Regions from separate parts of the Homo sapiens genome. Here regions 2, 3 and 4 are each linked to region 1. The links are contacts of gene promoters, found by promoter capture Hi-C in blood cells and fetal thymus (Javierre and others, 2016). All regions are on one chromosome and are shown on one strand. The core of a region is centred on a gene start or on the middle of the fragment in contact, and the rest is flanking DNA. Distances in the headings are between cores, read along the strand shown.

The links. The method cuts DNA at HindIII sites, captures the fragments that hold promoters and counts their contacts. A CHiCAGO score of 5 or more calls a contact.
Region 2: a contact is called between a fragment that was not itself captured here and the fragment with the promoter of DLL3 in region 1, in 1 of 17 cell types (neutrophils). The highest score is 6.1, in neutrophils.
Region 3: a contact is called between a fragment that was not itself captured here and the fragment with the promoter of DLL3 in region 1, in 2 of 17 cell types (naive B cells and neutrophils). The highest score is 7.0, in naive B cells.
Region 4: a contact is called between the fragment with the promoter of DYRK1B here and the fragment with the promoter of DLL3 in region 1, in 4 of 17 cell types (erythroblasts, total CD4 T cells, naive CD8 T cells and 1 more). The highest score is 6.7, in erythroblasts.

What each region holds. Positions count from the first base shown.
Region 1 is chr19:39,497,562-39,500,586 of GRCh38, reverse strand. DLL3 (delta like canonical Notch ligand 3) reads right to left here and starts at 1,640. Exons shown (of 9, transcript NM_203486.3): 1 at 1,544-1,640; 2 at 1,114-1,395. The coding sequence starts at 1,612. RefSeq lists a silencer at 2,261-2,320 and an enhancer at 1,944-2,936. The HindIII fragment of the contact is 3,955 bases long and covers 548-3,025 here.
Region 2 is chr19:39,213,769-39,217,024 of GRCh38, reverse strand. No RefSeq gene overlaps it. Among named protein-coding and RNA genes, the nearest start is that of SYCN, 11 kb to the right of the region's middle. The HindIII fragment of the contact is 6,255 bases long and covers 1-3,256 here.
Region 3 is chr19:39,107,196-39,110,217 of GRCh38, reverse strand. ACP7 (acid phosphatase 7, tartrate resistant (putative)) reads right to left here. Exons shown (of 13, transcript NM_001004318.3): 13 at 1-165. The coding sequence ends at 100. Among named protein-coding and RNA genes, the nearest start is that of PAK4, 17 kb to the left of the region's middle. The HindIII fragment of the contact is 5,363 bases long and covers 1-3,022 here.
Region 4 is chr19:39,832,836-39,835,811 of GRCh38, reverse strand. It overlaps DYRK1B (dual specificity tyrosine phosphorylation regulated kinase 1B), which reads left to right and starts at 1,650. Exons shown (of 11, transcript NM_004714.3): 1 at 1,650-1,789. It overlaps FBL (fibrillarin), which reads left to right. Exons shown (of 9, transcript NM_001436.4): 8 at 999-1,144; 9 at 1,250-1,354. The coding sequence ends at 1,274. RefSeq lists silencers at 1,838-1,947, 2,208-2,477. The HindIII fragment of the contact is 24,958 bases long and covers 1-2,976 here.

The sequences.
Region 1 (3,025 bases), core at 391-2,890:
AAGATGAAAGACAGTGGTTAGGGTAAGTACTCAATGAAGGCCAGAGTTCAGGAATGGAGGGTGATGGCCATTGCTGGGGACTGAGCAAGCAAGGGACAATTCCCAGAGGGACCAGACCAGCCCAGGGAGGGAATGACATCTGTGGCTTTTTTTTGGGGGGGGGGGGAGAATCTCACTTTGTCAACCAGGCTGGAGTGCACTGGCGCAATCTTGGCTCACTGCAACAACCTCCGAGGCTCAAGCAATCCTCCCACCTCAGCCTCCCCAGTAGCTGGGACTACACGCGCATGTCACCATGCCCTGCTATGTTTTTTTTTTTTTTTTAGAAACGAGGTCTCACTATGTTACTGAGACTGGTCTCAAACTGCCGGGCTCAGGAGATCCTCCTGCCTAGACCTCCCAAAGTGCTGGAATTACAGTGTGAGCGACTGGACGTGGCTTGCTTTATTGAGCACTTACTACGTGGTAAGCACTTTATTCAAGAGATGTGGTTGAATCGCTCAAAAGGGACCCTTGTGAGGTACCAGGATGATCCCATTTTTAAGCTTAGGAAACTGAGGCTGGAAACCAGGCAGTCACTTGTCCAAAAGGACAAGGGTCAAGCATTGCAATACAGGTCTGTTCATCTTTGTGCCTTTGGGTTGTGGGGGTGGGAGACAGGATTTTGGAGGTGAAAGAGTAATTAATACAGGACCCAACTGAAAGAACTGAGGACAGAAAAAAAAAAAAAAAGAGAGAGAAGATATTAGTGGTCCCCAAGACAAGGTGTGAGAGGTTTGGGGATAAAGATGAGGACCACAGTTTTTAGGGATCCCCAAGGAGCAGAGGTAGGGTTCCTTGAGTTTAGGATTTCAGAGCTTGGGTTTGAAATTCTGGGAATTTGGGGTCCCAGCATCCAGGGTTGGGGAATCAGAACATTTAGAATCCCCAGTGTGTAGAGTTTAGAGGTCTGTGAATGTGGGGTTCCAGACGGTAGAGTTACTGGTCTGGGAATTTCGTCCACCCCCTGGGAGGCAGGATTAGGGTCTTGGAAGCTGGAGGGGAGAGGAGGTGGAGGTTTCGCTGGCAGGGTTAGGCCTCCAGCACCGGGAGTCCCCCGGGGGCAGCACTTACAGGCCAGGCGTCCCGGAAGGGCACCTGCAAGAGGCCGTCGGGCAGTGGGAGATCAGGCGCGGGCGCTCCGGGCTGCTCGGTGTAGACCGGTCCGCGCGCACTCAGCGCCGCGCCCAGGGCGCACGGGGACTCGGCGGCCTCCTCTGAGAGCCCAGGCTTCAGGCAGACTCTGAAGAAGAGGCGGCAGGGGAGCCGGGCGCTGCAGGGGGACCGCGGGGCCCCAGGGCCTGGACCCGGCCCGAAAGAGTGGATCTGCAGCTCGAAGACGCCAGCGGGCCGTGTCTGGGACGGAGACGGGCGCAGGGTGAGGCGGCCGGGAGGACCCAGGCTTCCCGTCCGCCCCACGCTCCTTCCCCAGGACCTTCAGGTCGCACTCACCCCTCCCCTCCGCATTCATCCCTTTCCACGCCACCTCCCACCTGGCTCTGACCTGGGGGAGGAAAATGAGCGCTAGGATCACAGTCTGGGAGAGGAGCCCGGACATCCGTGGGGAGACCATGGCCTTCTGGTGGGGGGGTCTCGGGAGTCGCAGCTGCTGGCTTCCAAGCCTTATATCTGAGAGAATGGCCCCGCCCCTTCAGGCAGCTACCCGGCCCCAAGGGACCAAGGGCGGGGCGGGGGGGGCGGTCACAGGGGAGGGGGAGCGTGCAGGAGCAACAGCGAGATTCCGTCTGTGGTCGTGGGCACGAGCGAGGTCATGCGTGGGTGATCCCGCGACTTTTTGTGTGGCTAGGGTGGGGTGGGGTTAGGGGGCTAAGCCTGTGTGTGAGGTTGTACATGATTTTAAGATTTTGTGTGTGTGGTATGAACCAGAGCTACCGGAGGGTGCACATGACTTTGTCATTGTGAGTCCACGTGGGACTGTGCGGCTCAGCATACGCCTGGAGTTGTGTGTGATTGACACATTTATGAGGTTGTAAACAATTCTGATTCTGCACGCACACCCGAGTGGGACACTAGAAGTGTACACGACTTCGTGATTGTGTGACGCTTTGAGATTGTGTGGCTGTGTGGCTGCTTCTCTGTGCGTGTGTGTTTATGGGAGATCCTGTATAGGCGTATAAACCTGTGACTTTGTGCTCTGTGCGGGTGTGGTAGAGGCTGTGCAAGGTGGTGAATGGCTGAGGGCGCCTGTGTGTGAATGAGACTGGGTTTGAGAGGTCCACGGATGCAGCCGCGTGTGAATACGATGAAGATCCGGAGTTCTTTGTAGACCCCTGTGTGCGCTGGTTTGTGTGAATGAGACTGGGTTTGGGAGATCCACGGGTGTAGCTGTGTGTGGATACGATGAAGATCCAGGGCTCTTTGTGGACCCCTGTGTGCAGGCGTGTGTGTGTTCCCCCTCCGCAAGACAAAGCCACCCTCCCAAACCCCGCATCGCGGACGCACCAGACGCCAGGGCGAGGAGCTCGGCCTCAAGAGGGGGCTCCCAGCTGTATGTAAATGCCGCCATCTGCCGGGCGGCCGAGCCCCTCCCCCTTCGGGCCGCAGCTGGGCTGCCCGTTTGGCCTCCGGAAGGTGTGAGGAGCAAATGGGCAGGAAATTCCGTCTTCACATACAGGGACCCGCTCCCCCACCCCAGAAGAACTGGGGGGGGGGACATCCCGGGCCCTTCAGAAACCCTTTAGTATTCCAGGACCTCAGCAGGAAAAGCCAATTAGGAGCAGATGTCCCAGCCCCTCTGGTCATAATTGCTCCCTGCCAGGCATGGGGCAAAACCCTTGAGCTGGGGTAACTTCTTTTTTTTCCCCCCCAAAGTAAAAAACTTTAGTGCTTAGAGGCTAATAATTATAGGGGAAAATACAGGTTCAATTTATATGTCTTTTTCCAGAGAAGTAAGATATAGTAACCAACGAAGCCTAGCCCAGCAGAGCCAGGCATACAGTAGGCGCTCTGTTTTTTGTTGTTGCTG
Region 2 (3,256 bases), core at 4-2,503, 280 kb after region 1:
AAGGCCAGATCTTTTTTTTTTTTTTTTTTTTTTTTGAGATGGAGTCTCGCACTGTCGCCCGGGCTAGAGTGCAGTGGTGCGATCTCAGCTCACTGCAACCTCTGCCTCCTGGGTTCAAACAATTCTTCTGCCTCAGCCTCCTGAGTAGCTGGGATTACAGGCACCTGCCACCATGCCCAGCTAATTTTTTGTATTTTTAGTAGAGATGGGGTTTCACCACTTTGGCCAGGCTGGTCTTGAACTCCTAACCTCGTAATCCGCCTGCCTCGGCCTCCCAAAGTGCTGGGATTACAGGTGTGAGCCACTGCGCCTGGCCTAGATCCATCTTTTTGAGGCATTGAGTGCCCATCTCTAGCTAAGTTCTGGCAGCAAGATGTAGACAGGAGTGTCATGTACCATGCTCCTGGAAGAGCATTTCCTTCTTCTTCCCTCCCTCCCTTCCTCCACATGTTGACTGGGATGTAGATGGGAAGGATGGAGCTCAAGCAGCCATATTGGGCCACAAGAAAAAGCCACATTTGATGCTGGAGCAACAAGACAGAAGGAGCCTGGGCCCTGACACTGGAGCCCCAGACAGCCTTGGTAGCTGTCTCCCTTCATATGAAAGACAAGAATACTCCTCATTTGTAAAACAAAATACTAATTTTTGGGCAGAATAACAGCCCCCCGAGGTGTCCTCAGAACTAGCGAATATATTATGTTACACAGCAAGGAAGAGTTAAGGTTGCAGATGGAATTAAAGTCACTAATCATTATTTTATTTTATTTTTTTGAGACAGTCTCACTCTGTCACCCAGGTTGGAGTGCAGCGGTGTGACCTTGGCTCACTACAGCCTCTGTCTCCCGGGCTCAAGCGATTCTCATGCCTCAGCCTCCTGAGTAGCTGGGACTACAGGTGCATGCCACCACGTCCAGCTAATTTTTTGTATTCTTAGTAGAGATGGGGTTTCACCATATTGGCCAGGCTGGTCTCAAACTCCTGACCTCAAGTGATCTGCCCGCCTCGGCTTCCCAAAGTGCTGGGATTACAGGCATAAGCCACCACGCATGTCCCATTGATTTTAAAATAAGGAAATTGGGCATGGTGGCACGTGCCTGTAATCCCAGCTACTTGGGAGGCTGGCTGAGGCAGGAGAATTTCTTGAACCTGGAAGGCTGAGGTTGCAGTGAGCTGAGATCATGCCACTGCACTCCAGCCTGGGCGACAGAGCAACACTCCATCTCAAAAAAAAAGAAAAGAAAAGAAATTGACTATGCAACCAGGCTCAGTGTATCCTGGAGCTGAGTGGCTAAAAACATGGACTCTAGGCTGGGTGCGGTGGTTCATGCCTGTAGTCCCAGCACTTTGGGAGGCTGAGGCTGGAGGATCACTTGAGCCCAGGAGTTTGAGACCAGCCTGGGCAACATAGCAAGATTCTGTTTCTACAAAAATATGCAAAAATTAGCCAGGTGTGGTGGTGCATACCTGTAGTCCCGGCTACTCAGGCAGCTGAGGCAGGAGGATTGCTTGAGCCTGGGTAATCAAGACTGCAGTGAGTGGTGATCACACCACTGCCCTCCAGCCTGGGCAACAGAGTAAGACTCCGTGTCTTTAAAACAAAAAACAACAACAACAAAGGAAATTATCCTGGATTATGTGGGTAGGACCAGAGTAATTGTAAGGATCCCTTAAAGTGGAAGAGCAGGCAGCAGAAAAGGACAGAGTCATAGAGGGATTTAAAGATTCTCTGTTGCTGACTTCAACAAGGAAGGGGCCACAAGCTAAGGAATGCAAGTGGCCTCTAGAATCTGGAAAATGCAAGAAACAGGATTCTCCCCTGGAGCCTCCAGAAGGAAGGCAGCCCGATGACACCTTGATTTTAGCCAAAGGAGACTCATTTTGGACTTCCAACCTCCAGGACTGTGAGATAATGAATCTGTGTTGTTGTAAAGCACTGTTTGCAATCATTTGTTACGGCAGCAATAGGAAACTGATTCATAATTAATCCAAACTTCTTGCTTGAATCTTTCTCTGACTCTAAAGCTCCTGATTAATAAGAATAATAATAATCACACTTTGGGAAGTTGAGGCAGGTGGATCACCTAACATCAGGAGCTCGGGACCACCTTGGCCAATATAGGGAAACCCCATCTCTATTTTAAAAAATACAAAAATTAGCCAGGTGTGGTAGTGCACACCTATAATTTCAGCTACTCAGGAGGCTGAGGCAGGAGAATTGCTTGAACCCGGGAGGTGGAGGTTGCAGTGAGGTGAGATCGCGCCACCGCACTCCAGCCTGGGCAACAGAGTGTGACTCTGTCTCAAAATAAATAAATAAATTAAATAATAATCAAAACCATCATCCATGTCAGTAAACACACTGAGCACTTTCCATGTGCCTGAAATAACCTCAACCCACTATACTTTTTGCTTATGTAAGACACACAACAATCCCACAAAAAAAGTGTAAAGCCTTAAATACAAATGTGGGAAAAGGAACGAGGCTGAAAATAAGCCAGCTAACCATCTATCTTAAATGTGAGGAAAAGAACAGCACGCAAAACTCAAAGAAAAGGGCCAGGCATGGTGGCTCATGCCTGTAATCCCAGCACTTTGGGAGGCCAAGGTGGGTGGATCACTTGAAGTCAGGAGTTCAAGACCAGCCTGGGCAACATGGTGAAACCCCATCTCTACTAAAACTACAAAAAATTAGCTGGGCATGGTGGCACATGCCTGTAGTCCCAGCTACTTGGGAGGCTGAGGCAGGAGAATCCCTTGAACTTGGGAGGCGGAGGTTGCAGTGAGCTGAGATCGCACCACTGCACTCCAGCTTGGATGACAGAGCGAGACCCCGTTTCAAAAACAAACAAACAAACAAACAAACAAAAAACTCAAAGGAAAAAAGAATAAAGAAAGCAAGCATGAAAGATATAATAGGCTGGGAGCAGCGCTTCACCCCTGAAATCCCAGTGCTTTAGCAGGCCGAGGCAGGAGGATCACTTGAGCCCAGGAGATTGAAAGCAGCTTGGCAACACAGTGAGTGATCCCATCTCTACAAAAAGAAAAAATATTAGCTGGGCATGGTGGCATGCACCCATAGTCCCAGCTACTGGGAAGGCTGAGACAGGAGGATTGCTTGGGCCCAAGAGTTCAAGAACAGCCTGGGCAACAGAGTGAGACCCAGCTGTACTAAAAAAAAAAAAAAATAGCTGGGTATGGTGGCACATTCTCAGATACTCTGGAGGCTGAGGCAGGAGGATTGCTTGAACCCAGGAG
Region 3 (3,022 bases), core at 86-2,585, 390 kb after region 1:
TCAGGGCCCACCCAACTCCCCACCCAGGCCTGGGCAGTTTCTGGTCACAGCAGCCAAGGCGGCAAAACCTAGGCTTCTGGAGGAGAGCTGCCGCCATCCCTAGAGGTACATCCTCCGGCCAAACAGGGGTCTCACCACCCAGACATCATCTACGATCTTCCCATCCTGTGAGGGACAAAAACAGGGACAGTAGTTAGAGCTGAAAGCCTGAACTCTGGGGCCACATGGCCTGGGTTCCAGTCCCCTCTCTGCCCTCTGATGGGCTGTACAACCCTGAGCAAGTGGCTAGGCCTCTCTGGGCCTCAGTTTTCCTCATCTGAAAAGTGATAGGAAGAGTAACAGTACCCACATCATAGATGTTGTGGGAGTTAAATGAGATAGTATTTGTAAACAGAGCCCAGCATATGGAAAGGGCTATGTAAGTGTAGGCTATTATTAGAGCACAAACTCTGGAGTCAGACAGACCTTGCTTTATATTCCAGCACATCCACTCTTTCTCTCTCTCTCCTTTTTTTTTTTTTTTTTTTTTTTTAGACAGAGTCTTGCTCTGTCACCCAGGCTGGAGTGCAGTGGCAACCTCCGCTTCCCAGGTTCAAGCCATTCTCCTGCCCCAGCCTCCCAAGTAGCTGGGATTACAGGCATGCACCACCATGCCTGGCTAATTTTTGTATTTTTACTAGAGACAAGGTTTCACCATGTTGGCCAGGCTGGTCTCGAACTCCTGACCTCAAGTGATCCGCCTGCCTCAGCCTCCCAAAGGCATGAGCTGCTGCACCTGGCCAGCGCATCCACCCTCTAGGTGGCCTTAAGCATGTTGCTGGACTCTCTGAGCAAAACTTCCATGTTCTATGCAATGCACAAAGTAATAGATGCCCAGAGTCATCATGAGAACAGAGTGAGATCATGCACACAAAAGTCTGCGCCCGGTGCATGTGCCACTCGATAAATGGTAGCTATCAGATCCCAGCTTGGCCGTCCTCCAACTGTGTGACCCTGGGAAAATTACTTCCCCTCTCTGAGCCTCAGTTCCCTCACCTATAAAATGGAGAGGAAATCCACTCCTGTGGGATTGTTTTGGTGTATAAAGTGCTACTGGGGCCGCATGCGGTGGCTCATGCCTGTAATCCCAGCACTTTGGGAGGCCCAGGTGGGTGGATCACCTGAGGTCAGGAGTTCAAGACCAGCCTGGCTAACATGGTGAAACCCCATCTCTACTAAAAATACAAAAAATTAGCCGGGTGTGGTGGCATGTGCCTGTAATCCCAGCTACTCGGGAGGCTGAGGCAGGAGAATTGCTTGAACCTGGGAGGTGGAGGTTGCAGTGAGCTTAGATTGCACCACTGCACTCTAGCCTGGGCGACAGGGTGAAACTCTGTCTCAAAAACAAATAAATAAATAAAGTGCTACTAAATGCAGAGCATCTAGGCAGTGCCTGGTATGCAGTAGGTGCTCAATAAATCATAAATATTGTCATTATTTTAAAACTACAATGGCAAAAATAAAGAAAGGTGAGCCATTATTATTTGGATCCACCTAACCTTAAGCCACCTGTACCACATACTCATCTTATTGTTTTCCCCTACCTGTGTCCCACCCCCCATCTTTATCTTCCCCTGCCTCACAATGGTAAATACCTACAGAATTTACCAAGTTCCGCACTCTTCTAAGCATTTTATATATAATAAGTCCTTCAACCCCCATGTAGTCCTGTGAGGTGGAAACTATGATTATCCCCTCTCACAGATGGGAAAACTGAGGCAAAGAAGTTAGATAAGTGGGCCCAGCACAGTGGCTCACACCTGTAATCCCAGCACTTTGGGAGGTTGAGGCAGGCAGATCACCTGATGTCAGGAGTTCGAGACCATTCTGGCCAACACAGTGAAACCCTGTCTCTACTAAAAATACAAAAAATTAGCCGGGTGTGGTGGTGGGCGCCTGTGATCCCAGCTACTCGGGAGGCTGAGGTAGGAGAATTGCCTGAACCTGGGAGGTGGCGGTTGCAGTAAACCAAGACTGCACCACTGCATTCCAGCCTGGGTGACAGAGCGAGACTCCATCTCAAAAAAAAAAAAAAAAAATTAGATGAGTGACTCAAGGTCACTCAGCTGGTAAGCAGCAGGAGCAGGTTTCTAGTTCTACAGTCCACATTTGTTCGTTTTTTTGTTTTGAGTTAGGGTCTCACTCTGTTGCCAAGGCTGGAGTACAGAGGCGAGATCATAGCTCACTGCAAACTCTAACTCCTGCACTCAAGTGATCCTCCTGCCTCAGCCTCCCAAGTAGCTGGGACTACAGACATCTGCCACCACACTTGACTAATTTTCCTTTTTTTTCCAAGACAGAGTCTCACTCTGTCTCCCAGGCTGGAGGGCAGTGGTGCCATCTTGGGTCACTGCAAACTTCACCTCCCAGATTTAAGTGATTCTCCTGCCTCAACCTCCCTTGTAGCTGGGATTACAGGCACCCGCCACCATGGCCAGCTCATTTTTGTATTTTTAGTAGAGACGGGGTTTCACCATGTTGGCCAGGCTGGTCTCTAACTCCTGACTTCAAGTGATCTGCCCACCTCAGCCTCCCAAAGTGCTGGGATTTCAGGTATGAACCACCGCACCTGGCCTAATTTTTTTTTTTTTTTTTTTTTTGAGACAGAGTCTTGCTCAGTCGCCCAGGCTGGAGTGGTGCGATCTCGGCTCACTGCAAGCTCTGCCTCCCGGGTTCACGCCATTCTCCTGCCTCAGCCTCCCGAGTAGCTGGGACTATAGGCACCTGCCACCACGCCTGGCTAATTTTTTTTGTATTTTTAGTAGAGAAGGGGTTTCACCATGTTAGCCAGGATGGTCTCGATCTCCTGACCTTGTGATCCGCCTGCCTCGGCTTCCCAAAGTGCTGGAATTACAGGCATGAGCCACCGTGCCTGGCCATTTTTTGTATTTTTTGTAGAGACTAGGTCTCACCATGGTACCCAGGCTGGTCTTGAACTCCTGGACTCAAGCGATCCTCATACCTTAGCCCCACCAAATTGCAG
Region 4 (2,976 bases), core at 401-2,900, 340 kb before region 1:
TGGGACTACAGGCGTGTGCCACCACACCTGGCTAACTTTTATATTTTTAGTGGAGACGGGGTTTTGCCATGTTGCTCAGGCTGCTCTGGAGCTCCTGAGCTCAGGCAATCTGCCTGTCTCAGGCTCCCAAAGTGCTAGGATTACAGGCACGAGCCACTGCACCCAGCCAAAAACTTTCATTAAGCCTTTTATCACATTTCCTAAACCCGAGTGTCTTAGCCCATTTTATGCAGCTATCACAGAATGCTATAGACTGGGTAATTTATTTATTTTTATTTTTATTTTTATTTTTTTGAGATGGAGTCTTACTCTGTCACCAGGTTGGAGTGCAGTGGTACGATCTCGGCTCACTGCAACCTCCAGTTCCTGGGTTCAAGCGATTCTCCTGCGTCAGCTTCCCGAGTAGGTGGGACTACAGGTGTGCGCCACCACACCCGACTAATTTTTGTATTTTTAGTAGAGATAGGGTTTCACCGTGTTGGCCAGGATGGTCTCAATCTCCTGATTTCGTGATTGAGCCACCTCGGCCTCCCAAAGTGCTGGGATTACAGGCGTGAGCCACCACGCCCAGCCTTAGACTGGGTAATTTATAATGAATGGAAATTTATTTGGCTCCCAGTTCCAAAGGCTGGAAAGTCCAAGATTGGAGGTCTGAATCTGGCGAGGGCCTTCTTGCTGTCATCCATTGGCAGAAGGGTGAGAGCAAGATAGAAAGGGGGCATAATCATCCTTTTAATCAGCAACCCACTCTTGTGATAATAGCATTACTCTATTCAGGAAGGCAGAGGCCTCATGACCTGAATCATCTCTCGAAGGTCCCACCTCTCAACTCTTGCATTTAAGGGTTACGTTTCCAACACATGAACTTTGGGGGACACACTAGAACCATAGCACTGAGTTTTACTTGAATTAATAATGAAAACATCTGGTTTAAAGAGCACACAAGAGAAAAACAGCCCAAAGCCCTGTTGTAGACATTAGTCCTTTCTCCTCTTTAGGCCAACTGCATTGACTCCACAGCCTCAGCCGAGGCCGTGTTTGCCTCCGAAGTGAAAAAGATGCAACAGGAGAACATGAAGCCGCAGGAGCAGTTGACCCTTGAGCCATATGAAAGAGACCATGCCGTGGTCGTGGGAGTGTACAGGTGAGCAGGGGCCCAGCAATACACCAAGACAGACATCTCTGTCCCTTGCACCCCGAGTGCCATGATCCTGGGGACCCTCCTTCATCACCTATCTTCCTCTCACAGGCCACCCCCCAAGGTGAAGAACTGAAGTTCAGCGCTGTCAGGATTGCGAGAGATGTGTGTTGATACTGTTGCACGTGTGTTTTTCTATTAAAAGACTCATCCGTCTCCCATGTCTGCTGCTCATTCCTCCCCTTGACCTGCTGACACAGGGAGCACGCACCCTTGGTCAATTTTGCGGGGTTGGGTAAATTCTCACTCGGTCACAGAGCGCATGCTCCGTTTCTAGCTGCCTTTGCGCAGCGGCAGCCTGGATTTCGGTTCTTGGGTGGGATTGGTAGCTCGCTGCGCATGCGTGCAGGTAAGCGGCCATCTCGCGCAGGCGGAGTGTCAGTGTGGGTCACGTGAGGGGAGCGGAGAGGGAGGGATGGGGGCGGAGTCCAGGGCGTGGGGGGGCCGGTTTGTTGTGGTCGCCATTTTGCTGGTTGCATTACTGGGTAATCGGGGCCCTGGCTTGCCGCGTCCGCCGGATACCCTCAGCCAGTGGGCAGGTCTGAGCTCGGGCTCCCCGAGCAGTTTGAGTCCCCTTGCCCGCTCCTTCAGGTAACGGCGCGGGGACGGGTGGGGCGGCAAGCGGTCGCAGGGAGGTGGGCAGGACGGGATCCGCCCTGCTCCCGTCGCCGTGAGACTTAGCACGAGGCCAAGGGAGGAGAGGAGGGGGGTGGCAGGCAGGTGCGGGCCCTGCCTGGCTATTCATAGTTGAATTCCTGGAACCGGCCAAGCCCGAGGAAGCAGTTGCAGGAGGGAGGCTGGGAGGGGGTAGCCGGGCCCCACTCCCGCCCTTTGTTTGGGCTCAGCTCCGCGGGCCGCTTCTTCGTCGCCTAGCAACAGCTGCCCTAGGCTGTGATTGGCTGAGCTCTTGGCACCAGCGACCAATGGTACAGTTGTTGCCATGGCAGGTGCCGATTGCCAAGCTCAGTCGGGCCCCGCCTTCCGGTCTCAGCAGGCCCAGGAGGGCCTCCTGGGTGGGGGGCGGGACGCCGGGTCCCTAGGGGCTGGTGGTCACTCAGGGTGGGGCGTGTCGCCCCTCCCCCGTCCACCTGCTCTACTCTTCCCCCGCGTGCCCTGGGCTGACCCTTGTCCCCTCCTCTCCCCGCCCCCGGTGGCAGTGGCGGCTGCTGTTGTCACCCACCGGGCCTCCTGTCCCGCTTGCCCTCCCCGCCGCGGGGCCGGCCGGGCCAGAGACAGGCGGTCGCCTTTTCAGCGCCGCCACCGCCGCCATGCTGGCCGCTCGCCCACCCCACTGGGGGCCCCACCGCGCCCCAGCCCCCCGTGGGCCCCGCGCCAGCCCTGACCCGGGTAGGGGGTGGGGGCTGGGAGAGATGATCCTGGTGTGGGAGGGCCCCGGAGAAGAGGTGGTTTTTTGGGGGAAGCTCCAAGGGTGGAGGAGTCGTGGAGTGGCAAGGCATGGAATAGGAGAAAGGGATTTGACATGGGGGAGAGAGTGGCCCATGGGGAGAAGATTTTTGCTGTAGCTGACAACTCTGGGAGGAGAGAACCCTATGTGATAACTTGGGGATTTGACTTTGAGGCCCTCTAGGAGTGGACACAGTTGTGGAATGACCCTGGTATAAAGAGGGGTGCCTGGAGAAAGGTCTGTGGTAGGAATATTAGGGTGTGTGTGTGTGTGTAGGGGGGCAAGGAAGCAGTGTAGGGGAGAAAAGGATGATCACTCTAAACTGTGGGAAGAGACACCTCCTCCTTCTCCCATCAGGAGGAGTGGGCCTTGA